Linked DNA regions of Homo sapiens: regions 2, 3 and 4 are each linked to region 1. Evidence: promoter capture Hi-C in 16 types of primary human blood cells and fetal thymus (Javierre and others, 2016). All regions are on one chromosome and are shown on one strand. Each heading gives the region's core, a stretch centred on a gene start or on the middle of the fragment in contact. The rest is flanking DNA. Distances are from core to core; before and after follow the strand shown.

Evidence for each region. The method cuts DNA at HindIII sites, captures the fragments that hold promoters and counts their contacts. A CHiCAGO score of 5 or more calls a contact.
Region 2: a fragment that was not itself captured here is called in contact with the fragment with the promoter of MIR22HG in region 1 in 8 of 17 cell types (M1 macrophages, total CD8 T cells, M0 macrophages and 5 more); the score reaches 6.4 in M1 macrophages.
Region 3: a fragment that was not itself captured here is called in contact with the fragment with the promoter of MIR22HG in region 1 in 1 of 17 cell types (monocytes); the score reaches 5.1 in monocytes.
Region 4: a fragment that was not itself captured here is called in contact with the fragment with the promoter of MIR22HG in region 1 in 15 of 17 cell types (M0 macrophages, M1 macrophages, erythroblasts and 12 more); the score reaches 20.9 in M0 macrophages.

Annotation. Positions count from the first base shown.
Region 1 is chr17:1,713,508-1,720,024 of GRCh38, forward strand. MIR22HG (MIR22 host gene) reads right to left here and starts at 2,703. Exons shown (of 3, transcript NR_028505.2): 1 at 2,623-2,703; 2 at 196-507. It overlaps MIR22 (microRNA 22), which reads right to left and starts at 480; the gene lies at 396-480. It also overlaps a transcript of WDR81 not described here. RefSeq lists an enhancer at 2,850-3,491. The HindIII fragment of the contact is 4,707 bases long and covers 448-5,154 here.
Region 2 is chr17:1,883,320-1,889,836 of GRCh38, forward strand. RPA1 (replication protein A1) reads left to right here. Exons shown (of 17, transcript NM_002945.5): 13 at 493-625; 14 at 5,356-5,532. Among named protein-coding and RNA genes, the nearest start is that of RPA1, 57 kb to the left of the region's middle. The HindIII fragment of the contact is 153 bases long and covers 2,967-3,119 here.
Region 3 is chr17:1,549,123-1,555,639 of GRCh38, forward strand. PITPNA (phosphatidylinositol transfer protein alpha) reads right to left here. Exons shown (of 12, transcript NM_006224.4): 3 at 3,882-4,027. Among named protein-coding and RNA genes, the nearest start is that of PITPNA, 10 kb to the right of the region's middle. RefSeq lists an enhancer at 1,505-2,419. The HindIII fragment of the contact is 3,853 bases long and covers 3,342-6,517 here.
Region 4 is chr17:1,857,027-1,863,543 of GRCh38, forward strand. All of the region lies in intron 5 of RPA1 (replication protein A1), which reads left to right. It also overlaps the pseudogene SDHCP5. Among named protein-coding and RNA genes, the nearest start is that of RPA1, 30 kb to the left of the region's middle. The HindIII fragment of the contact is 481 bases long and covers 3,544-4,024 here.

The DNA.
Region 1 (6,517 bases), core at 1,453-3,952:
AAGTAAGAGCAGAAGGATGACTCCTCACGCCTGGGTTTAGTATCACTTTTCCCTGAAGAGTGAGCTTACTTTTGGACCTCATCTGGAAAGGCCAGTGGGGAAGAATGAAAGATACGGAAGGAGGGTCAAGAAGGAAGTCGGGGAGACAGAGTGTTCTCTCCACTTCTTCCCACTGTCACACAAAGACCAACTAACCTTGGGTTGTTTGAGCCTTCTACTCCTCAATCCAGCCAGTGTCTCTAATCTAAAACCGCTCCTTGCTGGGCCAATCTGGGCAAAGGCTCTCCAACTTGCCCAAAACGTATCATCCACCCTGCTGTTCGGACCTTCCCAGCCCATTTCTGTCACCTTCCAGATGATGGGGAAAGCAGCTCCTCCTCCTCCTCGAAGCCAGGGGCAGAGGGCAACAGTTCTTCAACTGGCAGCTTTAGCTGGGTCAGGACATAAAGCTTGCCACTGAAGAACTACTGCGGCTCAGCCAGGTGAGGGCGTGAGAGGAACAGGCTCCTAAGGGAAAGGGAGGGAAAATGGGAAAGATCTGAGCAGGGCATGTTGCTGCAACGCTGACCCACTCGCTGGCCATCAGGGTCCTGCCCCAGTAGACCTCTGAGATTCTAATGCAGGGCTGCAGCTCTGATCTGGGCCCGCGGAAGCTGTTAACCTCGCTGAGCAGCAAGAGGTGGCTGTAAACAGACTTCCCTTGCTCTTCTTTCCAGAACTGGAGTCTAGAGAAACCCAGTCCTGCTCTCACCCTCCCCTGCCCTAGCGGCCCCTGGGGGCCCAGCCTCCTCAGCATTCAGACAGGGTGGGGCCCGGGACCCTGGACACACCCCACCAGCACGCAGGTACTAGAAGTGTGGTACCTCAGGTCCAGAAATGTGAGTTCAGTGATCAGCCCAACTGACTTGTTCCCAGGGAGTTCAGCTGGAAGGAGAGTTCTGGGGGCCTGGATTGGGGAAGAGTGAGGAAGGGAGGAGGCCTAGCGTTTGAAAGAAGGTCAGCAGAGGCCCCCGGGGCTGTGAGGGGCGGACAGGGGACCACAGGCTGGAGAGGAGGGAGGTATCGGCAGGGTGGCCGGGGCTGTGAGGGGCGGGCAGGGGACCACAGGCTGGAGGGGAGGGAGGTATGGGCAGGGTGGCTGGGCAGCTTCCCCAGGACTCTCAGATGCCAGGCATTCCGCTTGCGCATTCCGGGTACATCTGGTATGAATTCCAGGCTGTCTGCCGGCCCCTCCATGTCTGAACTTTGTTCCAAGTTCCAAGCCCCGCCCCCACAGTTCCAACGCATGAATCAGCAGGAAAAGCCGGGCCCTGCAGCATGGCCCAGGGAGGGGGCTGGGGGCGTGGCAGGCTCGGGGGATGTGAGCTGGGGAGGGCGGGTCCGTGCTGACACTCAGTCCAAGGGCATGGCCCACGCCAGGCTGAGGGGCCAAGGCGGTCTTGCCTTGGAATTTCTATACTCAGAGGGTAAGAAAGATTGGGGGATACGGGGTGCGGTTCAAATTCCGAAACCCTCTTGGGAGGCATGAACTTTGTGTATCTTCCTTCCCCTGGGTGACCAGTCCAACTCCGTCCGACCTTCCTCTGTCTGAGATAGCTCTGTTCAACCCAGAGGACTCAGCAGCTGCTGAGAGTCTGTGCCAAGCAGGTGCCCTTGGCTGCAGGGCGGGGTGGGCCCAGGGCACTGACCCTCTGACCAGCTGCTCCATCAACCCTCTGGCACTCTGACAGCTCCTAGCCCAATCTGACAGCCAGGATGACAGGCCAAAGGAGTTGGAGGCTGGAACCAGGGCCGGAGGGAGGTGGGGGTGACAGCCTCGCCGGAGGCCATGGGGAGGGGCCAAGAGTTGGCCGAGAGGTGGGGAGAGAGGCAGCCCAGTGATGACTAACCCAGGCGCCCCACCCAGCCAGCCGGCTTCCCAGGCAGTCAGGGCCAGGCCTGGGCTAGGGGCCTCACAATCGGACAGGCTGGGGGGAGGTGCAGAGGTGACCTTCTCTCGGCCCAAGACGGCCAGTTAGTCTGGGGAGCGGGGGTTAGAGTTTCCAGGCCCTCCTCTTGCCCTCTTCCCCCCGCCCAACCACGGTGAAACCCTAACCTTTGGGTTGCATAAGGCCCCGGCACCGCCGCCCCCTACTCCTCTCCCCTCCCCCCTTACATAACATCCCCTGGAGAGAACGAGAGGAGGGGCCGGCCCGCCCAGCGACCCCTTCCCTGCCAGGGCGCTGAACTGGCCCTGACCCAGTGAACGCCGGCAGAGGCAAAGCACCTCCTCGCCGCCCGCTCGGGGGGTCCAGACCCTCCCCAGGCTAGATGGCCGGCCCCTGTATCCTCAGACCGGGGGCCGCCGGGTGAGCCGCCCCCGGCCCTCCGGCCCCTCGGCTCTCCCCCCGCCCCCCGCCACTCCGCCAGCCCTTCCGCCACGACTCCCGTCCCAGACTCTTTCCTCGTAGCTCCTGACACACTAACCCGGCCAGTCCAGGCCCCTCTCCCCGAGGCGCCCCTGCCCCCGCCGCCCCTTCTCCTCCCGGAAGGGCTGGGTGTGGCCGCCCGGACCCCACTTTCACCCTCCATCCCGTTACCGCGGCTCCCCGCTGCGTGACCGGGTCGCCAGCTCACACCCACCTGGTGCTGGGTGTGGGGGTTGCTGCACGAGGGGGAGCAAATCACTGCGTCCGCTCCCCACGGCCGGCGGCGCTGTCTCTTCTCGGCACCCAGCACACACCGGCTCCAGGCTCCGATCAGCTGGCGGCGTCGTGACGCACGAGCTGCGAATGCACGGCCCGGGGCCAATCACCGCCCACTGCTGGGCAACGTGGCCCCGCCCACCCGGGGGCCGACGGGGCCTCGCCCTGGTCCCGCCTCTCCGGGCGCCCTGGCTCTGATTGGCAAGGAGGCCACCCTTTTGCCGGGCGGAATTGCACGAAGCCACGCCCACCCACTGAGGAGCCGGCCAATAGACGGACAGGTGTGGCCCAGCCCTCCGCGTCAGCGACCCGCTTAGAAAAGCGCTACGTCAAACGAGAGTCCTAAAGAGCAGGCGAAAGCCACGGCGTCTGCGTTTGCAATGCATGCTGGTCCGTGTAGTTCTCAGCCTGACACCGTCGTTCCCAGAACCCAGCGCGCTCTGTGAGTTGGCATTTTTAAACTGAGCTCGGAATCCAGCCCGGGGAAGTCCTTAAAGGGCGACAGCCCCTCCTTGTTGGAGTCGTGAGTGCTTCTTTTAGACATTCCCCAAACTGACTCGCCGGCCTCTGCGGGACGCTATAGCTCTTTAAGGAAAGGTGGAGCGGACCAAGGAGCAGGAGTGGGCAGAGCGTCAGCCCCCAGGGCAGCAGAGACTGCCGTTGGAGAGCTCTCCAGGGTTTTTGGAGGAGGGAGGGTGCTCGCCTCGCCCAGCCCACTCCTCCTGGGGGCTCTTCCTAACCACAGGAGGCTTTTTTTCTTGGATGTCTCTTCCCAGTCCCAGAAGAGCCCCCAGAGCCTCCCAAGAGGTAGCTTTCTAACAAAAGATTCATAGCACAGTCCTCACCTTAGGGTAGAGGGAGGGCTTCTGGTCAGAAATTAGGGGATGGGCCATGCCAAAGTGCAAAGGGTCAGCAATCGCATCCTCTGATTAACCCCCATTCAGTCCCGCCCTCCAAAGCTCTTCACTGACTCAGGCCTACTTAGGGAAGAGATTCGAAGGTGGAGACCAATGAGCAGGCTGCTCCTTCCCCAGGGGCCAATCAGAGTCTAGATGAGCGGGGGATGGGCAAAAAGTGAAATGAACCCAGTGACTTGGCAAAAGCTGCTGGTCGGCGTTTTTAAAGGGGCAAGCCGGAGACCTGCCCTACCTTATCAATCCCCGCAAGTCCCCCAAAGAGGAACATGTGGACTGAAATCCATGCCTTTTCCTTCAGCTCCAAATAGGGGCTGAGGGTAACTAAGCAGGAATGATGAGGCTGGAGGGTGAGATCCTTCCTTCTGTTAAATACGCACTCCATCAGGTAATTGATAAGGTTCACTTGGAGCTCCAAAATTCTGAGCCTGCGTTCAGGACATTGCGCCTTTAAGGAAACTTCCTGCCTTGCGCCCCAGTAACAGCTGATTGTTGGAAAGTGTGACCTCTGGGGACGAATCAGCTGTTACCACATCCTCCTCCTTGCTTACCCTCCTCCATCCCCTTATCCACTCCCATGGGTGGTGAAGGAAAGAACGTGGGGGATGTGATTGTATGATCTTTCTTTTCCCCCATCACTCCAAGACTGTCTCCCCCAACCCCAACCCCGCTCTGCTCCTTAGTTCTTCAGAGGCTCTGGGCTTGGAAAGAGAGGTATTTCCTGTTAGCACAGTAAATTCAGACTCTGTGGTCTAGACCCTCCCTGGTCTAGGGGAAGGCCAGTACTGGGGAGGTCCAGAATGGTGGCTGGCGCTGGGGAGGGTACAGTGAACCCGAGGACCAAGCCTGGGGAGGAGGAATGGCTATGGGAAGCAAACTTGGGGTTCAGAACGCTGCTTCTCAGGCCAGCCGCCCCCTACTTCCTACTCAAGTTGCCCTATTCCTCCATGGACAGGTGTCTGCTGATGGGATCCTCCTGCTTTTGCCCATTTACTCCACCTCCTTATTTATTTTTTTTTTTTCTGTTTTTGAGACAGAGTCTCGCTCTGTTGCCCAGGCTGGAGTGCAGTGGCGCGATCTCGGCTCACTGCAACCTCCACCTCCCGGGTTCAAGCGATTCTCCTCCTTCAGCCTCCTGAGTAGCTGGGATTACAGGCGTGCGCTACCACTCCCAGCTAATTTTTGTATTTTTAGTAGAGATGGTGTTTTGCCATGTGGGCCAGGCTGGTCTCGAACTCCTCACCTCAGGTGATCCACCCGCCTCGGTCTCCCAAAGTGCTAGGATTATAGGCGTGTGAGCCACCGCGCCCGGCCGCATTCACTCCACTTCTAACTGTTCTCAGCTGCCACCTGGTCCCTGGGCCGCTCCATTTTTGGCTTTTGGCGGTGCCCTGCCCACATGGCCACCCCCCATAGCAAGGGTCCTAATTGCTCAAGGACTGCAGGTGGGACACGTTGGCCCCAGAAGCCAGCGTCTTTGGCTGGGAAGTGCTGGGAAGACCCAGGTAAATATTTTGCCTCGATCCTGAGTTGGGAGTCAGGGTCACTCCAGGACAAGCTTAGTGTGAAGTCCTAGGACTGACTTGGCAAGGCGTGGAGAAATTGAGCAGGGCCCTGGCCAAGCATGGAAGGAAGTGAAGCCTCACCAGTGGCCCCTATTCTCCATTATCCTGAGCATAGAAATCCCATCCCTTTCCCACTCACGGCCCTTGGGGTGACCCTTTTCCATTTTGTTCTGAACACTGACCCCACCCCCTAGGTCAAAAGCACAGGCTTCGAGTCCAGGGTTTCGCCACCTCAGCACCCACTGGCATTTTAAGTAGAATAATTTCTTGTGGGAGGGCTACCGGGTGCACAATAGGACATCCACGTGGTCCCTGGCCTCTGTCCTAGATGTCAGTGGCAACACCCACCCACCCCCAGCTCCCAGTTTTGACAACCAAAAGTATCTCCAGACGTTACCAAATGTCTCCTAGGGGCCAAAATCTCCTCCAACTGAGAACTACTGTGTTAGGCACACTTAGATTCAAATTCCAGCTCTTACTAGCTGTGAACTTGTTACCGATAATTTCCCCTCATCTACAACATACGGTGAATAAGGAATTCAAGCCTTGTTGTAGGGATTTCAACATTTAAAAATATTTTAAAAGTTAAAAATGTGCCCGGGCGCGGTGGCTCATGCCTGTAATCCCAGCACTTTGGGAGGCTGAGGCAGGCGGATCACGAGGTCAGGAGATGGAGAACATCCTGGCTAACACTGTGAAACCCCGTCTCTAATAAACATACAAACAATTAGCCGGGCGTGGTGGCGGGCGCCTGTAGTGCCCAGCTACTTGGGAGGCTGAGGCAGGAGAGTGGCGTGAACCCAGGAGGCGGAGCTTTGCAGTGAGCCAAGATTGGGCCACTGCACTCCAGCCTGGGTGACAGAGCAAGACTCCGTCTCAAAAAAAGAAAAAAAAAAAAAAATTAAAAATGTGGCCAGGCACAGTGGCTCATACCTGTAATCCCAGCACTTTGGGAGGCCGAAGCAGGTGGATCACTTTGAGCCCAAGAGTTCAAGACCAGCCTGGGCAACGTGGCAAGACCCTCTTTAAAAAAAAAAAAAATTAAAAAATGGCCTGGCGAGGTGGCTCACACCTGTAATTGTAGCACTTTGGGAGGCTGAGGCAGGCAGATTGCTTGAGCTCAGGAGTTCGAGACCAGCCTGGGCAACATGATGAAACTCTAGCTCTACCCAAAATACAAAACATTAGCCAGGTGTGGTGGTATCTGTGGTCCCAGCTACTCAGGAGGCCGAGGCAGAGGTTGCAGTGAGCCAAGATGGCGCCACTGCACTCCAGCCTAGGTGACAGAATGTGACTCCATCTCAGAAAAAAACGAAAAACAAATTTAATTAGAAAACACCTAGCATAGATTTAA
Region 2 (6,517 bases), core at 1,793-4,292, 170 kb after region 1:
CGCCCGGCTAATTTTGTATTTTTAGTAGAGACGGGGTTTCACCATGTTGGCCAGGATAGTCTTGATCTCTTGACCTCGTGATCCGCCCGCCTCATCCTCCCAAAATGCTGGGGTTACAGGCATGAGCCACTGCGCCCAGCCTAAAAAAAATTTTTTTAATGGGCCTGGGCATGGAAGTCCCAGTTACTTAGCAGGGCAAAGGTGGGAGGATCACTGAGCTCAGGGGGTCAAAGCTGCCTTGAGCCATGATTGCATCATTGCACTCCAGCCTGGGTGACAGAGTGAAACTCTGACACAATTTTTTTTAATTTAAATATTATAAAAAATATATAATTACGAAGATACCAGCTTCAGCCGACATGACCGTGACCTGTGTGAAAGCTGGGCGGGTGGTGGGAAACCTGTGTCTGTCGCGTAGCAGCAAGTTGCATGTGGAGAAGCAGAAGCATGTCACATCAAGCGCTCGTCATCGTTATTCGTTCACGTTTTCAGGTTTGACGCAGAAGGACAAGCCTTAGATGGTGTTTCCATCTCTGATCTAAAGAGCGGCGGAGTCGGAGGGAGTAACACCAACTGGAAAACCTTGTATGAGGTCAAATCCGAGAACCTGGGCCAAGGCGACAAGGTACCCAGCATTCCTAACCACCTTCACAAAGGGCTGTAAAGTGTGCAGAAGGATGGATTTAGAAACTTGGTTTCCAGCACCAGCTGTCAGAGCCGTAATTCTTACCCGGGGCTGTGACCTGAGCGTGGCATGGGGGTTGAGAATCACTGGCAGAGGGAAGCAGCCAGGTGTGCTCATGGGAATATGTGTTACCCCTCAGGGGACTGGAGGCAGGAGAGTCTGAAGAACTCTTAGAGTCAATTCCTAGAGGGATCTTGGAGCAGGGGTGACAGTCAAGCTTTGTGGTATAATATCACCTGCTTTCGGGTCCACGTTTCTTTCCTGTGATCCTTCCTGCAAATTTAAGCGCCCACATATCAAAAAGATGTTTTTTGAGATGAGCGTTAGTCCGCCTCAGGTCAGACATGAGGCAGTTTCACGGGTGCTGTTCCTGGCTGTAGAATAGTGTATTAACCTCATAGGCTGAGAGCTGCCGGCATTCCCGGACAAGGATTGGCCCTGACATTTGACTTTTAGTTGCAGCTTTTTCCTTTCAGTGTTTGTATTTAATGACCCTCCTCCCATCTTGATCTAAGCCTGTGTTCTGCCAGCAGTTTAGTATTTAGATCATTTATTTCTCCTTTACGCCTGCTCTTTTATTTTCATCATATACAGTGTAGGTTTCATTCCTCCTGTCTCATTTCACTGTATACCCTTATCCATCATTGTCAACAGCAGCTCTTAAGTGCTCTTATAGAACATCTCAAGAATTAAACACTGGACAGATCCTCGTTGTCCTGTCATGGGACACCCACTCTTTCGGTTCTCTGTAATCCCAGCTACCCAGGAGGCTGAGGCAGGTGGATTACATGAGCCCAGGAGTTCGACTGAGCAACATGGAAGACCCCTTCTCTTGAAACAAAAACTTTATTGCTGAAAAATGCTGACAATCATCTGAGTCGTAATCTTCTTGCTGGTGGGGGTTTGTTTCAGGGTTGATGGCTGAGCAGTCACGGCGATGGTTGCTGAACATCGGCGTGTCTTTGGCAGTTTCTTAAAATAAGACAGCAGTGAAGTGTGCCACATTGGTTGACTCTTCCTTTCACAAAAGCTTTCTCCATAGCCGGCGATGCTGTTTGACAGCATTTTACCCACAGGAGAACTTTTTCAAACTGGAGTCTCTCCCTCTCAGGTCCTGTCACTGCTTTATCAGCCAAGCTTATGCAAATTCTAAATCCTTTGTCGTCATTTCAACAATGCTCACAGCGTTCTCACCACAAGAGATTTCATCTCAAGAAAGCACTTTCCTTGCCCATCGTAAGGAGCAGCTCCTTATCCGTTCAAGTTTGATCGTGAGATTACAGCAGTTCAGGCCCATTTTCAGGCTCCATTTGTAATTCTAGTTCTCTCGTTATTTTCGTCACATCTACAGATCCCTCCTCCACCAAAGTCTTGAAGCCTCAGTGTCTACCTTGAGGGTTGGAATCAACTTGTTCCAAACTCCCGTTGATGTTGGGATTTTGATCTCCTCCCATGAATCATGAATGTTCCTTTTTTTTTTAACTTGAGACAGGGTCTCATTCTGTCACTCAGGCTGGAGTGCACTGGCTTGATCACAGCTCACTGCAGTCTCAACCTCCCCAGGCTCCCAAGCTGGGACTACAGGTGCTGCCACACCTGGCTAATTGTATTTTTTGTAGAGACTGAGTTGTGTCATGTTGCCCAGGCTGCTCTCAAACTCCTGGGCTCAAGGGATCTCCCTGCCTCAACCTCTCAAAGTGCCAGGAGTTACAGGTGTGAGCGACTGTGCCCAGCCAACTGTTCTTAATAGCATCTAGAATGGTGAATCCTTTTCAGGTTTTCAATTTACTTTCCCCAGATCCATCAGAGGAATCACTGTGGCAACTATCGCCTCATGAAATATGTCTCTTAGACTTAAAAAGTCAAAATTACTCCTTGATTTGCATGGGCTGCAGAATAGATGTTGTTATCAAGCATGAAAACAATATTAATCTCCTTGTTCTGTGCATCTCCATTGAGCCCTCGGGTGAACAGGTGCATTGTCAATATATTAATCTCCTTGTACTGTGTGTCTCCATTGAGCCCTTGGGTGAACAGGTGCATTGTCAATATATTAATCTCCTTGTACTGTGTGTCTCCATTGAGCTCTTGTGTGAACAGGTGCATTGTCAATATATTAATCTCCTCGTACTGTGTGTCTCCATTGAGCTCTCGGGTGAACAGGTGCATTGTCAATGAGCAGTCATATTTTTAAAGGAGTCTCTTTTTCTGAGTAGTAGGTCTCAACAGTGGGCTTAAAATATTCAATAAACTACACTATAAATAGATATGCTGTCATCCAAGCTTTGATATTCTATTTATAAAGCAGAGGCAAAGTAGATTTAGCATAGTTCTTATGAGCCCTAAGATTTTTGACATGGTCAATGAGCACTGGCTTCACCTTATAGTCCCCAGCTGCATTCGCGCCTAACAGGAGAGTCAGCCTTTCCTTTGAAGCTTTGAAGCCAGGCATTGATTTCTACTCTCTAGGACGAATGTTCTTGATGGCATCTTCTTCCAGAAGGCTATTCTGTCTACGTTGAAAATCTGTTGTTGAGTGCAGCCACCTTCATTGGTGGTCCTAGCTAGATCTTCTGGATAACTTGCTGCAGCTTCTCCATCAGCACTTGCTGCTTCACCTTGCACTTTTGTTATGGTGACGGCTTATTTCCTTAAACCTCATGAACCAACATCTGCTGGCTGCCATCTTTTCTTCTGCAGCTTTTTTTTTTTTTTTTTTTGAGACAGAGTCTCACTCTGTCACCCAGGCTGGAGTGCAGTGGTGCAATCACAGCTCACCTCAGCCTCTGGAGTAGCTGGGACTACAGGTGCACACCACCGTGCCCTGACAGATTTTTGTAGAGACTAGGTCTCACTATGTTGCCTGGCTGGTATCGAACTCCTTGGCTTAGGCAATCATGTTGCCTCTGCCTCCCAAAGTGCTGGGATTACAGGTGTGAGCCACTGCACCTGGCCTCTTCTGCAGCTTCCTGACCTCTCTCAGCCTTCACAGAATTGAAGAAAGGTGAGGCCTTGCTCTGGGTTAGGCTTTGGCTTAAGAGAATGTTGTGGCTTGCTTGATATTCTATCTAGACCACTACAGCTTACTCCATATCAGCAGTAAGGCTGTTTGCTTTCTTATTTGTGTATTCAAAGAAGAGAGACAGGAATACTTGATTGGAGGATCAGTCAGCATACATACAACATTCATCAATATAAGTTCCCCATCTTATATGGGTGTAGTTGGTGGCACCCCAGAACAACTACAATAGTGACGTTAAAGATCACTGTAGGCCAGGCGCGGTGGCTCATTCCTGTAATCCCAGCACTTTGGGAGGCTGAGGCAGGCGGATCACCTGAAGTCAGGAGATCGAGACCATCCTGACCAACGTGGTTAAAACCCCGTCTCTACTAAAAATACAAAAATTAGCTGGGCGTAGTGGTGCATGCCTGTAGTCCCAGCTTCTCGGGAGGCTGAGGCAGGAGAATCGTTTGACCCTGGGAGGCGGAGATTTCAGTGAGCTGAGATCATGCCACTGCACTCCAGCCTGGTGACAGAGCGAGACTCCGTCTCAGAAAAAAAAAAAAAATCACCATAACAGATATGATAATAATGAAAAAGGGCCAGGCATGGTGGCTTACTCCTATAATCCTAGCACTTCGGGAGGCCAAGGTGGGTGGATCACTTGAGGTTTGGAGTTCGAGACCAGCCTACCCAACATGGCAAAACCCCATCTCTACTAAAAAATACAAAAATTAGCCAGGCGTGGTAGTGCACGCCTGTAGTCCCAGCTACTTGGGTGGCTGAGGCAGGAGAATCACTTGAACCTGGGAGGTGGAGGCTGCAGTGATCAGAGATTACACCACTCACTGCACCCCAGCCTGGGCGACAGAGCGAGACTCTGTCTCAAAAAATACATATATAATGAAAAAGTTTGAAATCTTGCAAGAATTACTGTCTTTATGTGACACAGAGACATAAAGTGAGCACCTGCTATTGGGAAAATAGTGCATTTACTTGACCCAGGGGTGCCACAAGTCTTCAATCTGTAAAAAATGCCGTATCTGTCAAGTGCAGTAAAGCAAAGCACAATAAAGTGAGGTGTGTCTGTAGTTGCAGCAGAGACTGTGACCAAATGGCTGCTAAGGCCTGAAATATTTACTGTTTGGCTTTTTACAGAAGCAGCTTGCTGATCCCTGGCCTAAACAAGGAAAAGGTGAATCTAGGCCTAGACACGACTGCCGTGTTTTGAGCGCGGGAGGGATGGTTGATCGTTGCTGCACTGGGTGTTTGTGGTCCGCATTCTGTATTTCCTAGATCTGTGGCCTTTGGAGGGTCAGAGGATCGGGAGGAACAAATCTTTGTCTTTCATACAGTGTTCAAGCAAACAGGAAAACAATTTCACTTTTAATTAACTTAGTGTAATTTAGGATTAACTCTTTTATTGTGAAGGAATTATCTGCCTCAGAACTTGGCTTATTAGAACTTGGCTTATTACCTTCATGGGTTTTGTACTCGGCACATGTGATTTCTAAAACTACAGAATGAATGATTCCCTGTGATCATGTGTAATCTTGAGGATGTAGAAACACTTACCACCTAAACGTAAGGGCAGGCTTTGAGCTGCCTCTCGGTCCGATCCTGGGCGGGCTCGCGACTCCGTGCCTCATGCTGTTCTTTTCTCCCGAAGCCGGACTACTTTAGTTCTGTGGCCACAGTGGTGTATCTTCGCAAAGAGAACTGCATGTACCAAGCCTGCCCGACTCAGGACTGCAATAAGAAAGTGATTGATCAACAGAATGGATTGTACCGCTGTGAGAAGTGCGACACCGAATTTCCCAATTTCAAGTACCGCATGATCCTGTCAGTAAGTAGCCTCGGTAGATGAGAACCACGGTTGTGTTCACGGAGGCCCTCCCGTGTGCCAGGCACTGTGGTCACAACAGTAGAGACAAAGCATTCCTGGTAGGAAGCCCGCAGATGAGTAGGTGTGGAAGAGCTTATCCATCCGCTTTTTCATGCCAGAAAGTGGTGTTGAGATACCCCAGCTGATTCAGTCTTTCATGCACGTCATACAGCCATAGCGTCAGTGACACTTGCCTGCTAACTGCTATGAAGATAAATTAATTTGAAAACGGCATTTATAGACAGCACTAATTGTACTTACACAGCCAATGCCCGTATTTAGTCACTTTCATGTGGATAATCTATTCTCTAGCTTTAGTATAGCTGACTTCAGAGGAATGTGACGGTGTGCTGATGTGAGATTGTTGCTTTTTTGCATTTTAAGAATTGTTTCTTTCTGTTTTAAAAACCTTTTTAAAAAAGTTGTAAAGTTGGGTTTAAAAAAATTTTTTTTTTTTTTTAAGAAACAGGGGTCTCACTCTGTTGCCCAGAATAGAGTGCAATGGTATCATCACAGCTCATGGTGGCCCCAACCTCCCGGGCTTAAGCAGTCCTTCCACCTTGGCCTCCCAAGTAGCTGCAACTACAGCTGTGCACCACCACACCCAGCTAATTTTTAAAATTATTTTATTGTAGAGACAGGGTCTCGCTCTGCTGTTCAGGTTGGTCTCAAGTTCCTGGCCTCATGTCATCCTCCCACCTCAGCCTTCCAAAGTGCTGGCATTACAAGCCTGAGCCACTGCACCCGGCCTTAAGATTTTTATTTTGTTTTGTTTTGTTTTCAATGATAGAACTAGGCGATAATAGCAGTTTAAGAAAACAGTTTAAGGCCGGGCACAGTGGCTCACTTTTGTAATCCCAGCACTTTGGGAGGCCGAGGCGGGTGCGTCACCTGAGATCAGGAGTTTGAGACCAGCCTGGCCAACATGGTGAAACCCTGTCTCTAC
Region 3 (6,517 bases), core at 4,018-6,517, 160 kb before region 1:
GTCTTGAACTCCTGACCTCGTGATCCACCCACCTTGGCCTCCCACGGTGCTGGGATTACAGGCATGAGCCACCGCGCCCGGTCTCTTCTACTCAATTCTTATCTCAGGTTACAGAACAACATGTACAGTATAAGCCCCCTGCTTTTTTTTTTTTTTTTGGTAGGTGTGTGGTTTGACGGAGTAGGAAAACATTTAGAATTTTTTTTTTTTTTTTGAGACAGTCTTGCTGTGTCACCCAAGCTGGAGTGTAGTGGCTCGATCTTGGCTCACTGCAAGCTCCTCCTCCCAGGTTCAAGAGATTCTCCTGCCTCAGCCTCCCGAGTAGAAGGGACTACAGGTTCCCGCCACCACGCCCGGCTAATTTTTTGTATTTTTAGTAAAGACAGGGTTTCGCCATGTTAGACAGGATGGTCTCAATCTCCTGAGCTCATGATCTGCCCGCCTCAGCCTCCCAAAGTGCTGAGATTACAGTGGCGTGAGCCACCGTGCCTGGCCTAGAAAGATTTTTTAAAATTAAAATGAAAATGGTACATATATTCCTTTTCCTTTTTTTTGTTTGTTTTTGTTTTTTGAGATGGAGCCTTGCTCTGTCGCCAGGCTGGAGTGCAGTGGCACGACCTCAGCTCATTGCTTCCTCCATCTCCTGGGTTCCAGCAATCCTCCTTCCTCAGCCTCCTAAGTAGCTGGGACTACAGGCATGCGCCACCACGCCCAGCTAATTTTTGTATTTTTGGTAGAGATGGGGTTTTGTCATGTAGGCCAGGCTGGTCTCGAACTCCTGACCTCGGGCAATCTGCCTGCCTCAGCCTCCTAAAGTGCGGGGATTACAGGCGTGAGCCACCGCGCCCAGCCGTCCTTGGTTTCTAACAGATAATCTGTCCAGTCTTTGGCAAGCTCTGGCAACCTCATCAGCTTTAGTGCCTCAGGCCTAAGAAAGAAGAGCAAACTAGAGCAGAGAGCTAACCTGGAGCACTTGGGGCGGCCTCTGTGATTCACGAACTCACTGCCATCCCCATTCAGGCGAGTATTTCTAGGTCCAGGCAGGGGGACACACAGAGAAACCAAACAGATGTGGCTCCCACCCTCAAGGAGTTTCCGGTCTACTGGGGCGTGTAACTAGACAAGGCCAAGCACAACACTGTAAGTTCATGCCATAATGCGGTGGGCACAGGGCCCTGGGTGGCGGAGTGCTGTGAGAACACAGTGGGGGACATGCAGTGCACCGGGCAGGCTCTGCGAGGAAAGTCAGGATGAACCAACACATGGGACAATGAGTGGGGCTAAGCTAAGAGACAGATGGGAGTGGGGTGGGAAAAGCTGGAGAAAAGAGGGACAAGTTCAGAGTAACCGGTGCAGGTACAAGGTGGGGAATTCAAGGAGACACCTGAAGCTGGATCCTAAAAGATTTTTTTGTTTTTTTTTTGAGACAGGGTCTCACTCTGTGGCCCAGGCTGGAGTGCAGTGGTGTGATCATGGCTCACTGGCAGCCTTGACTTCCTGGGCTCAGGTGATCCTCCCACCTCAGCCTCCCAAGTAGCTGGGACTACAGGTGCACACCACTATGCCTGGCTCATTTTTGTATTTTCTGGTAGAGACAGGGTCTTGCTATGTTGCCCAGGCTGGCTAAAAGGTCCTATAAGTTATGTCAGACAGCACGGACTTCGTCCTGAAGGCAAAGGGAAGCCGTCAGCAGTTTTGGCGCTGGGAGTGACAGACCATCCAGACTGAACACTTGAAGCGGTGCGGAGAACTGAAAGGCAGGGAGACTCGTTAGAAGCTGCTGTAGTAATCCAGGCAAGAGGTGGCAAGGAAGGGACATGTTGGAGACGCTGAGGAGATGGAGTCAGCAGGACCTGATGGGACACGAAGGGCAAGTGAGAGTGTTGCGGGGCGGAGTCAGCGGGACCTGATGGGACACGAAGGGCGAGTGAGAGTATTGCGGGGCGGAGTCAGCGGGACCTGATGGGACACGAAGGGCGAGTGAGAGTGTTGCGGGGCGGAGTCAGCGGGGCCTGATGCGATAAGAAGGGCGAGTGAGAGTACTGCAGGGGAGCTCTGCTTTCTGCTTTGGGCAGCCAGATGGCTGACACAGTAAAGCTTCTCTTGTCACCATGGGGAGAGGTAGTGGTGGCAGTCACTGCTGGCCTTTTCTTTTTCTTTTTTTTCTTTTTTTTTTTTTGTAAGAGACAGGCGGGATCTCATTCTGTGGCCCAGGCTGGAGTGCAGTGGCGTGACCATGGCTTACTGCAGCCCTGACCTCTTGGGCTCGGGTGATCCTTCCACCTCAGCCTCCTGAGTAGACAGGACTACAGACACTCGCCACCACACCAGCCTAATTTTGTTTATTTTTTGTAGAGATGGAGTCTCGCTATGTTGCCCAGGCTGGTCTCAAACTCCTGACCTCAAGTGATCCATCCGTCTCGGCCTCCCAAAGTGCTGGGATTACAGGCGTGAGCCCCCGAAGCACCCGGCCAGGTTCCATCTTTCATATGTAGAGACCTCGTCTCTGTCAGTTTGGTTGGACCAACTTAGTCTTGAGGAAACAATTGGTCCCTTCTACCTAAAATACCAACTTCACCATCTCTTTTCAAAATCCTCTTTAAGAAATACAAATACCAGAGGAGGAGCAAAACGAGACATGGAGAAAAAGTGTGCTGGTGAGGAGACTGAGTGATGGTGAGGTTCCTCCCCGCTGGACAGCACTGCTCTCCTCGCACCCCGGCACTGAGGTCCTGGACCCTCTGGCGAGGAGACTGGGTGACGGTGAGGAGACTGGGTGATGGTGAGACTCCTCCCCGCTGGACAGCGCTGCTCTCCTCGCACCCCGGTACTGAGGTCCTGGACCCTCTGGCGAGGAGACTGGGTGATGGTGAGGTTCCTCCCCACTGCACAGCACTGCTCTCCTCGCACCCTGGCACTGAGGTCCTGGACCCTCTGACACCATCAAAGTGACAGACCACAGTGAAGTGGGGCTTTTTCCAAATGAAAGTCAATTGATTTCAGTTCAGTTTAGAGACTAGAAATTAAGATCCAGCTTTCAGTTTCACAGCAGTGTGGATGGACTTAAATGTCACTGAACTGTATACTTAAAAATGGTTAAAATGGTGAATTTTATGTTACGTGTACTTTATCACAATTTTTAAAAAGATTCAGGTTTACCTTTACCAGTTCTGGATAGCTTCTAAAACTAGCTTGGTTTGACTTCCACTCAAGCTGATGTATAATTAATACCATCAACGCCCTTTGGGTCTGCTCACAGTTTGCTGAAACATTACTGTTTTCGTTAGGGATTTAGCAAATTTGTGTAGTTTGATATGGATTCCAGTACACAAATCAGTTCAAGCTTCATTTAAAAATGCTGATGCCTTTGATCCAAAGAGAGGTACCAAAATTTCTCTAGCGATCGATTTCACGATATCAGAATTAAAAACCCTACCAGCCCAGCAATTCTAGGAATTCAATTTTAGGAATATTTGCTAAAAATCTGCATATACAAGTACATCAGAAGATCTACACAGAAGGAGTTTTACTGGATTATGTAGGCATCTGGAAATGACTAGAAATATGCGTCAAGACAGGAGGGTTCAACAACCTATAGCACTTCTGTCCCCCATGATACTGTGAATCCTACACGGACTTCAGAGACCGAGGCAGACAGAACAGGCTGGGAGAGGAGGCCATGATAAGTAACAACAAAAAAGGAATAGTATATTCCCATCTATATAAATGTGAGTATAACATTTATACAGTCAGTATATAACTATTAATTGTTAGGATATAACAATTAGTATAATCCCATCTATATAAAACAATAAAGGAAATAACACTCATTCACACACACACAAAAGCCAGCATCCGGCCCCGCTGCTCATGCCGCATACCTCTGCAGGTGGTAGATCTTGTGTGTGTACTGGCCTTTCTCACCGTCCTTCTCGTAGGGCTCATTCACCAGGACCTCCACGCCTTCGCCACCACCCGTTTCATTTTTACTGGCCTCAGCCACAGAATACAGCTGCCCCACTTGATACTAAAGGACAGAGACAGATGTTATTCTCAACACGGACCCTTCTCAACGGTTACACGTAATCCAGCTGCCAGTAAGTGTCTAACTGGATCTCCCTGGGGTCTCCTCATGCAGGAGCTGGTTCTGGAGTTTCACATCAGGCCTTGCCCAAACCCACCCAAAGCAACTGACAGTGCTGCTCCATGGCCCCTCTTGACCCATCAGACGTGTTTAGTTCATCCTTCTCATTTTCACACCACCCATCAGGGTTTATTTTTATTTATTTATTTTTTTTGGTAGAGACAGGGTCTTGCTATGTTGCCCAGGCTGGTCTCAAAACTCCTGGTCTCAAGCCATCCTCCCACCTTGGCCTGCCAAAGTGCTGAGATTATAAGCATGAGCCACCGTTCCCAGTCAATCCATCAGGATTTAAAGAGGCAGGTGAGTCTACTTAACCTGACACCACCACGCAGAAAACAGATTAGAGTCCAAAGGAGCTTTTGTGCTAAGCCTGCTTCTGGTATTAAGACCCCAGAAGACCTAGGTTGGTTGCTAGAAATCACTGGATCTCACCCATTTAAATAGATCCTAAGACTTGATTTCTTGTCAAAGAAAGGTGCTCAGCGCTCTGTGAAATCCGCAACCTCTATCGTAAAACTGGCTCATCTACTCGCTTCTTCTCTAGTCTTAGGCCTCTCCTCACCCCGCAAGTAGCTCTTTCAGGCAATGAAACCTCTTGACATTTTCCAGATTCCTGGTGGGGCCAAGCAAGTATTCCTGCTTCCCACATGAGATATTACAGATTCCTGCCCCACAGTCTGTGCCGGCTGGGTGCACCCTCTGTGTTGGCACTTACTACATGGCAAAAACCTAGTTTTCCTTTATTTGGGTCACATGCCACCCTATCAAGTCACCAGTCAACATGATTGGCCTCCTCTGACCCTGTCAGGATGGGCCAATGACCTAGGCAGTGCCCAGACTTAGCCCTTCCGCCTTCTTCTCTGAGAAGCTGTCCAGAGGAGAAAACAAGGTGAAAAGAAAATGAACAGCAACATTTGAGGCAGGAAATTATGTCTACACCAACGGATGTGTCTTTCCTACCGCTGCCGGTGCTAATCAGGCATGGCTGCTTAGGGAGTATGAGAAAAAGGAAAAAAGCTATGGGATTACCCAACATGCTGGGGGGTGGAGGGGGACAAAGGGTTTCCTCGAGCTCTATGCCCAACTCCTGGCACCCCCGGGGGGAAGACAAGGGTGTTTCTCTATTTTTTTTTTTTTTTTTTTTTTTTTTTAGACAGAGATCGCACAGTGGTGCGATCTCAGGTCACTGCAACCTCCGCCTCCTGGGTTCAAGTGATTCTCCTGCCTCCTGCCTCCTGCCTCAGCCTCCGAAGTAGCTGGGATTACAGGGACTGGGTTTTTCTCTCTTTGAGATTAAAACAGAAAGGATGTATCTCTAGGCAACTGCTACTTAAATCACTGCCTCCAACAGCAAGGACAGAGGCAGCTTCCAGAGCTGCTTCGCCTCAAACTTAGAAACCTGCTCTACCAGGCAGCTTCCTAAGCACTGCAGGGAAATTTCTGGGCAAAATCTGGAAAGTGAAGCAGAGGACGAGGACAATTCACTGCTCACCACAAGGCTGAAAGAGCCCTAACTTTCAAAGCAAAATCCCAGAACAAAATGCCATGAAAAGGGGCAGCAATCGAGGCTCAGTGAAATCCATACAGAGGAACATATGGGTGAAAGCCAGTCACCTTGACCTTGCTAATCCTAAGCTGCATCAGTGCTGCCTCAATGCCCCCCTGGAGCCCCAAGCTGTCCCTGTGCCTCTCCAAGTCCACCACCCAGCTAGGCACACATGAAAACCCGTCAGGTGGGTCAGGGCTTGGCTGAGCCAGGGGTGCCTAAGAAGGAGCAGTAACTCCGTTTCAGAGAAGAGCCGTAAGAACATCTAACCACTGACTCAGCAATCCTAAAGGACAGGCTGGGGAGAGGGCCTGGTGGAGGGGGCGAGGTTCCCAGCTAGTGGTACCACTTGGGAAGGGGGACCCCAGGCAGAGACTAATCGCCTTCATTTGGTTTCTCTTCAGCTGCAGGAATCAGAGGGCAGGTTCTAAGAGGATCAGCCTGTTGGCTGGCATCTTCCCCCTTCAATCTCTCTTGATATTCTGATCCTTTAATCCCAATGAGACAAGTGAAGGCAGTTTTGTTAATCTAAAGGGGTAAGCAAGACTGGCCTGCACAAGCTACAAGTGAAGGGCGCTTTTCACGTTAGAGTTCCTTTTGGCACAGCTGCTCTGCCCCCTGGGAAAGCAGCCAGACTCGGATGGGGCAGAGATAGGAGTGGGAGGGTCAGATCATTAAATCAGATTTAAAAAACTCCAACAGGACTGGGAATCTAGCCTCCTCAGACCTGCGATGATGTTCCTTGCTCTTGAGATCTGTTCACCTATCCCAGAGAACTAAGACATTCAACTAAGAAAAACAGACTCCACAACTTTGGCAATCTGGGA
Region 4 (6,517 bases), core at 2,534-5,033, 140 kb after region 1:
TGGAAGCTGAGTTCATTGACTTGAGATCTTTTTTTCTAACATAGGCATGTAGCATTATAAATCTGCCCTTAGCTACTGCTTTAAAAGTATCCAGCAAATTTGGATATGTTATATTCTCATTCATATTCAATTCATAATACTTTCTTATTTCCCTTTCAATTTCATCATTAACATTCTGTTATTTAGAAATGTGTTTAGTTTTTAAATGTGGGGATTTTCTCTTTTTTTCTTTTTCTTTTTCTTTTTTTTTTTTCAAAGATAAAATGAGTATTTAATTCAGTTTCAGAAAAAAAGGGTACATTACTTCGATGAGAAAGCATAAAATTAAGAGGCTTTTCTGGAAATCCAAGAAAAAGAAATAACCATTAATATGTTCAATGATAATTTTCTGGATCTTCCTCGTGTCCAAAGCTATATATTTTCTCCTCAAAAGCAGCTGCTCCAAGAACTAACTAGCCCTCTTTATCTCCCTCTAGCTGGGACAGACTAATTCCCCTCCACCCCCACCTCTCTTCTTTCAATAACACTGTGTAGGTGTTAATGGCCTGGGCTCTCACCAATGAAGAGAATTGTCCTTTAAGCCAGCAACCCACAGGTAGTGGCACCCAAAGCCTCACCAACCCACCCCCCACCCGGCCCGTCCCCAGGGCAGAAGCCACAGAGCTGGCATTGTTTCCACTGTCTCAGGAAGAAGGAGCCAAAAGCTGACCCTCAGCACAAATCAAAGCCCAATATGGAGAGAGAATAACTGCTTCTAGGCCGAGAGTAGGCAAGCTGTGGGCAAAAAAGGGGAGTTTTTGCAGCCACCTCATCTTTAGAAACAAGGGGAAAACTAGACCGTTTTCCACTATTAAGGTCTACCAGGTACTCTACTGCTCCAAGGAGATCTGAAAATACAAAAGGATCTAAACAAATAAGGAGAACTTTTCCCAGGCTGGAGATAAGAATGACAAACAGAAAGATGGGTGAATGTAATAATGTGTAGGAAGATGATGCTGGGAGCCTCCTTTCTTCACATGGCTGCCAGCCCCATAGAGGACAACACAGTAAGAACCAGGACAACCACTCCAGACTGGTATAGCTGGGGAATCTTCAGGCCTTTTCCTAGGTTCCACATCAAGTGTCGGATCCCATTCCAGGTATGATACATGAGAGGGAAGACGAGTGCAAACTTAGCTGTGTGGATCAGTGCTGGCCCCAGACACAGGGACTTCACAAGTTCCAAATAAGACTCAAAGTTCCCAGGGAGTAACACGGCCGACATGCCAAAAAGAGAGACCCCTGCACTCAAAGCAATACCAGTGCCACGGTGGCAGATGGACATCGCCATGGGAAGAGACCAATTTCTGATACAGAGCTGAGGGCTAAAGTGGGCTCGGAGGCAATGACGACCAACGTGTCTCAGCAACAGCGCAGCCATCTTGGGTTCTGGTCTCTCTTTTTCTTTTTTTTTTTGAGACAGAGTCTTGCTCTGTCACCCAGGCTAGAGTGCAGTGGCACAATCTCGGCTCACTGCAGCCTCCGCCTCCCGGGTTCAAGCGATCCTCCCACATCAGCCTCCTGAGTAGCTGGGACTATTGGTGTGTGCCACCATGCCTGGCTAATTTTTTATATTTTTAGTAGAGACGCGGTTTTGCCATGTTGGCCAGGCTGGTCTTGAACTCCTGCCCTCAAGTGATCTGCGTGCCTCAGCCTCCCAAAGTGCTGGAATTACAGACATGAGCCATCGTGCCAGCCAAATGTGGGTATTTTCTAGAGATCTTGTTCTTGATATCTAATTTAATTCTAGTATGATCAAACAACATACTTTGTATGACTTGAATCCTGTTAAATGTATTGTCTTATTTTGTTTTATTTTATTTATTTATTTTTATTTTATTTTTTTTTTTTTTTTGAGACAGAGACTCACTCTTTCACCCAGGCTGGAGTGCAGTGGCATGATCTTGGCTCACTGCAATCTCCACCTCCCAGGTTCAAGCGATTCTCCTATCTCAGCCTCCCAGGTAGCTAGGACTACAGGTGCCTGCCACCATGCCTGGCTAATTTTTGTATTTTTAGTAAAGACAGGGTTTTGCCGTGTTAGCCAGGCTGGTGTCAAACTCCTGACCTCGGATGATCTGCCTGCCTTGGCCTCCCAAAGTGCTGGGATTACAGGAGTGACCCACCTTCCCCAGCCTTGAGTCTTATTTTATGTCCAGATTATGGTCTCTCTTGGTAAATTCTGTGTGTACTTGAAAAGAATGTGTATTCTGTTGTTGGGCAGAGTCTTACAAATGTCAATTAGGTCGAGTCGGTAAATTGTGTTATTCAGTTTTTCTATATCTTTACTGTTTTTCTGTTTACTTGTTCTGTCATTTACTGAGAGGGATATTGAAATCTCTAACTGTAATAATTGTAAGTTTCTCTGTCTCTCTGCAGTTCTATTAGTTTTTGCTTCATGTATTTCAAAGCTGTATTATTAAATATCTATATAATTTAGAATTCTTGTGTCCACTTGATGAGTTGACTCTTATTATTATGAAATGATTTTATCCCTGGGAAATTCTGTGCTTTGAAGTCTGCTTTGATATTAGCATAGCCACTTTGGCGTTTTTTTTGTTTTGTTTTGTTTTTTCTCTCCTAGAGACAACATCTTGCTCTGTTGCCCAGGCTGGAGTACAGTGGTACATTCACGGCTCAGTGCAGCCTCAACACCTTGGGCTCAAGCAATCCTCCCACCTCCGCCTCCTGAGTAGCTGGGACTACAGGCATGTGCCACCACGCCCAGCTAATTTTATTTTGTTTTTTATTTATTTATTTATTTTTGAGACGAAGTCTCACTCTGTTGCCAGGCTGGAGTGCAGTGGCGTGATCTCGGCTCACTGCAACCTCCGCCTCCCAGGTTCAAGCGATTCTCCTGCCTCAGCCTCCTGAGTAGCTAGGGCTACAGGCACGCATCACCATGCTCAGCTGATTTTTGTATTTTTAGTAGAGATAGGGTTTCACCATGTTGGCCAGGATGGTCTCCATCTCTTGACGTCATGATCTGCCCGCCTCAGCCTCCCAAAGTGCTGGGGTTAAAGGCGTGAGCCACCATAATTGGCCTAATTTTATTTTTTGTGGACATGGAGTCCTGCCATGTTGCCCACACTGGTCTTGAATTCCTGGCCTCCAGCAATCCTCCTGCCTCAGCCTCCCAAGTAGTTGGGACTGCAGGCTGCACCTGTAGTCTGGGAGGTGGAGTGCCGGGCCTGCCTGTGGACTGCCTGGACTGGGGCTGGGACGGCAGTGCCACCACGCCCGGCTCATTTCTTTTCTTTTTATTTGTAGGGGCGGGGTCTCACTTTGTTGCCCAGGCTGGTCTCAAACTCCTGGCCTCAATCCTCCTGCCTTAGCCTCTCAAAAGGCTGAATTACAGGCATAAGCTACTGTGCCTGGCCATTGTGTATACTTTCTATTGCTAGCCGTTCAAGTTCACTAATGGTTTCTCAGGCAGTGCCTAATCTGCTGTTAATCCCATTGAGTGTATTTTTCTTCTCAGATAGTATAGTTTTTATCCCTAGAAGCTTGATTTTGGGTCTTTAAAAACTCATCTACATCTCTGCTTAATTTTTGGGACATACAGAGCACAATGACAGTATTTGTTGTAAGGTCCTTGTCTGTGGATTCTGGTGTCTGTGTTAGGTCCGGATTTGTTTCCGTCAGTTGATCCCGGCCTCTCCGATCATGGATCATATTTTCCTGCTGCTTTTCATGCCTGGCCCTCGGACCGAATGCCAGACATTGGGATTCGTACCTCGTTGGGTGCTAGAAACTTTTGTAATCCTGTAATTATTCTTGAGCTTTTTTCAGGGATACAGTTAACTTGGAGACAGTTTGATCTTTTGGTGTGTTGCTTTTAAGATTTATTAGAGAATCAGAGAGCTGCATTTAGTCTAGGTGTAGTTATTCCCAATACTGAATCGAGACCTGACAGACTGTTCTACCTCGTGCCCCATGAATATGAATTTTTCCCATCTGACTGGTAGAAACAGGTACTATTTCAAGCTTGCTGTAAACACAGGCATGGTTCCCTCTGGCCTTCTCAGATGATTCTCACCCTGGCCTCAGATCGTGTCCACACACACACACGGGCCAACCAGGACTCTGCTGACTACCCAGGAAACCTGCCACCCATTTCTGGAGTTCTCTGTGTACAGCCCTCTCTTCTCTGCTACTCTGTCCGGCCAGCTAGACGGCGATCTCCCCAGACTCTCGGCCCCCATTTCTGCACCTCGGGTTCTGGCAGGCCCCCTAAGCCCTTGAGGCACTGAGCTGGTGCAGACCCACTCGCTCGCTTTCCTGTGCACAGCAGGCGCTACCCCTCATTGAAAACCATGCGTCTCACGTATTTTCTCCCTTTCTGGTGGGGGGAGGGGGTTATGTTAGGTGTTAGGGTGAACCTGGTCTCTGTTGCTCCATTTGTCCGGTACGTAGTTTTAAAAGTTGAATATTTTTGCGAGGTGTGTCCTTAAAAACAAAACAGCATTCTCCTGCCTCACTTTTCTTTGGCCTCTGACTCCTGTCTAGAGACAGTCTGTTTCAAATCTCACAGCTGTTTCTTCTCTGTTTGTCTCCATATTTCTAAATAACACATTTGTGCTGCTCTTCGTTAATTTTTTCAGTTGAAACATTTGTTTATTAACTTCACGCTATGGGAGATTAGAATGTGGTGCTCTCTCTTTTTTTTTTTTCTTTTTTAAGAGTCTCACACTGTCACCCAGGCTGGAGTCCAGTGGCGTGATCTTGGCTCACTGCAACCTCCGCCTCCTGGACTCAAGCAATCCTCCTTGCCTCAGCCTCCTCAGTAGCTGGGATTACAGGCGTGCACCACTGCACCCTGCTAATTTTTGTTTTTATTTTTTTATTTTTTGAGACGGAGTCTCACTGTGTCGCCCAGGCTGGAGTGCAGTGGCGCGGTCTCGGTTGACTGCAAGCTCCACCTCCCGGATTCACGCCATTCTCCTGCTTGAGTAGCTGGGACTACAGGCACCCACCACCATGCCCGGGTGATTTTTTTTGTATTTTCAGTAGAGACGGGGTTTCACTGTGTTAGCCAGGATGGTCTCCATCTCCTGACCTCGTGATCTGCCCGCCTCAGCCTCCCAAAGTGCTGGGATTACAGGCGTGAGCCACCGCCCCCAACCGTATTTTTTTTTTTTTTTTTTTTTTTTTGTAGCGATGGAGTCTATGTTGTCCAGGCTGGTCTTGAACTCCTGGGCTCAAGCAATCCGCCCACCTGAGCCTCCCAAAGTGCCAGGATTACAGGTGTGAGCCACAGCGCCCAGCTTAGAATGTAGCTCTCTTATACCTCTCTTGTCCCTGCTGTCCACATGGAAGAAGTAGATGTTAATATCGATTAGCTCAATATTTATTTATTTATTTATTTATTTGAGATGGAGTCTCACTTTGTTGCCCAGGCTGGAGTGCAGTTGCATGATCTTGGCTCACTGCAACCTCCACCTCCCAGTTCAAGCTATCCTCATGCCTCAGCCTCACCAGTAGCTGGGATTACAGGCACACACCACCATGCCCAGCTAATTTTTGTATTTTTAGTAGAGATGGGGTTTCACCATGTTGGCCAGGTTGGTCTCGATCCCCTGACCTCAAGTGATCCGCCCACCTTGACCTCCTAAAGTGCTAAGATTATTGGCGTGAGTCACTGTGCCCAGCTTTTTTTTTTTTTTTTTTTTTTGAGATGAAGTTTTGCTTTGTTGCCCAGGCTGGAGTGCACTGGAACGATCTCCGCTCACTGCAACCTCCCCCGGGTTCAAGTGATTCTCCTGCCTCAGGCTCCCAAGTAGCTGGGATTACAAGTGCCCGCCACCACGCCCAGCTAATTTTTGTATTTTTAGTAGAGACGAAGTTTCACCATGTTGGCCAGGCTAGTCTCGAACTGCTGACCTCAGGTGATCTGCCTGCCTCAGCCTCCCAAAGTGTTGGGATTACAGGCGTGAGCCACCGTGCCCGGCCAAGATTTATTTATTTAGTTATTTGGAGACAGGTTCTTGCTTTGCCATCCAGGCTGGAGTGCAGTGGCTCAAAAAGGGCTTACTGTAGCCTCAACCTCCCAGGCTCAAGTGATCTTCCCACCTCAGCTTTCCCAGTAGCTGGGAGCGTGAACCACCACGCCCAACTAATTTATTTTATTTTATTTTATTTTATTTTATTTTATTTTATTTTTTTGAGACGAGTCTCACTCTGTCACCCAGGCTGGAGTGCAATGGCACAATCTCGGCTCACTGCAACCTCCACCTCCCGGGCTCAAGCGATTCTCCTGCCTCAGCCTCCCGAGTAGCTGGGATTACAGGTGCCCGCCACCACACTCAGCTAATTTTTTTTATTTTTAGTAGAGACGGCGTTTCACCACGTTGGCCAGGCTGGTCTCGAACTCCTGACCTCAGGTGATCCACCCACCTTGGCCTCCCAAAGTGTTGGGATTACAGGTGTGAGCCACCGTGCCTGGCCCCAACTACTTTTTATATTTTTTTGTAGAAAC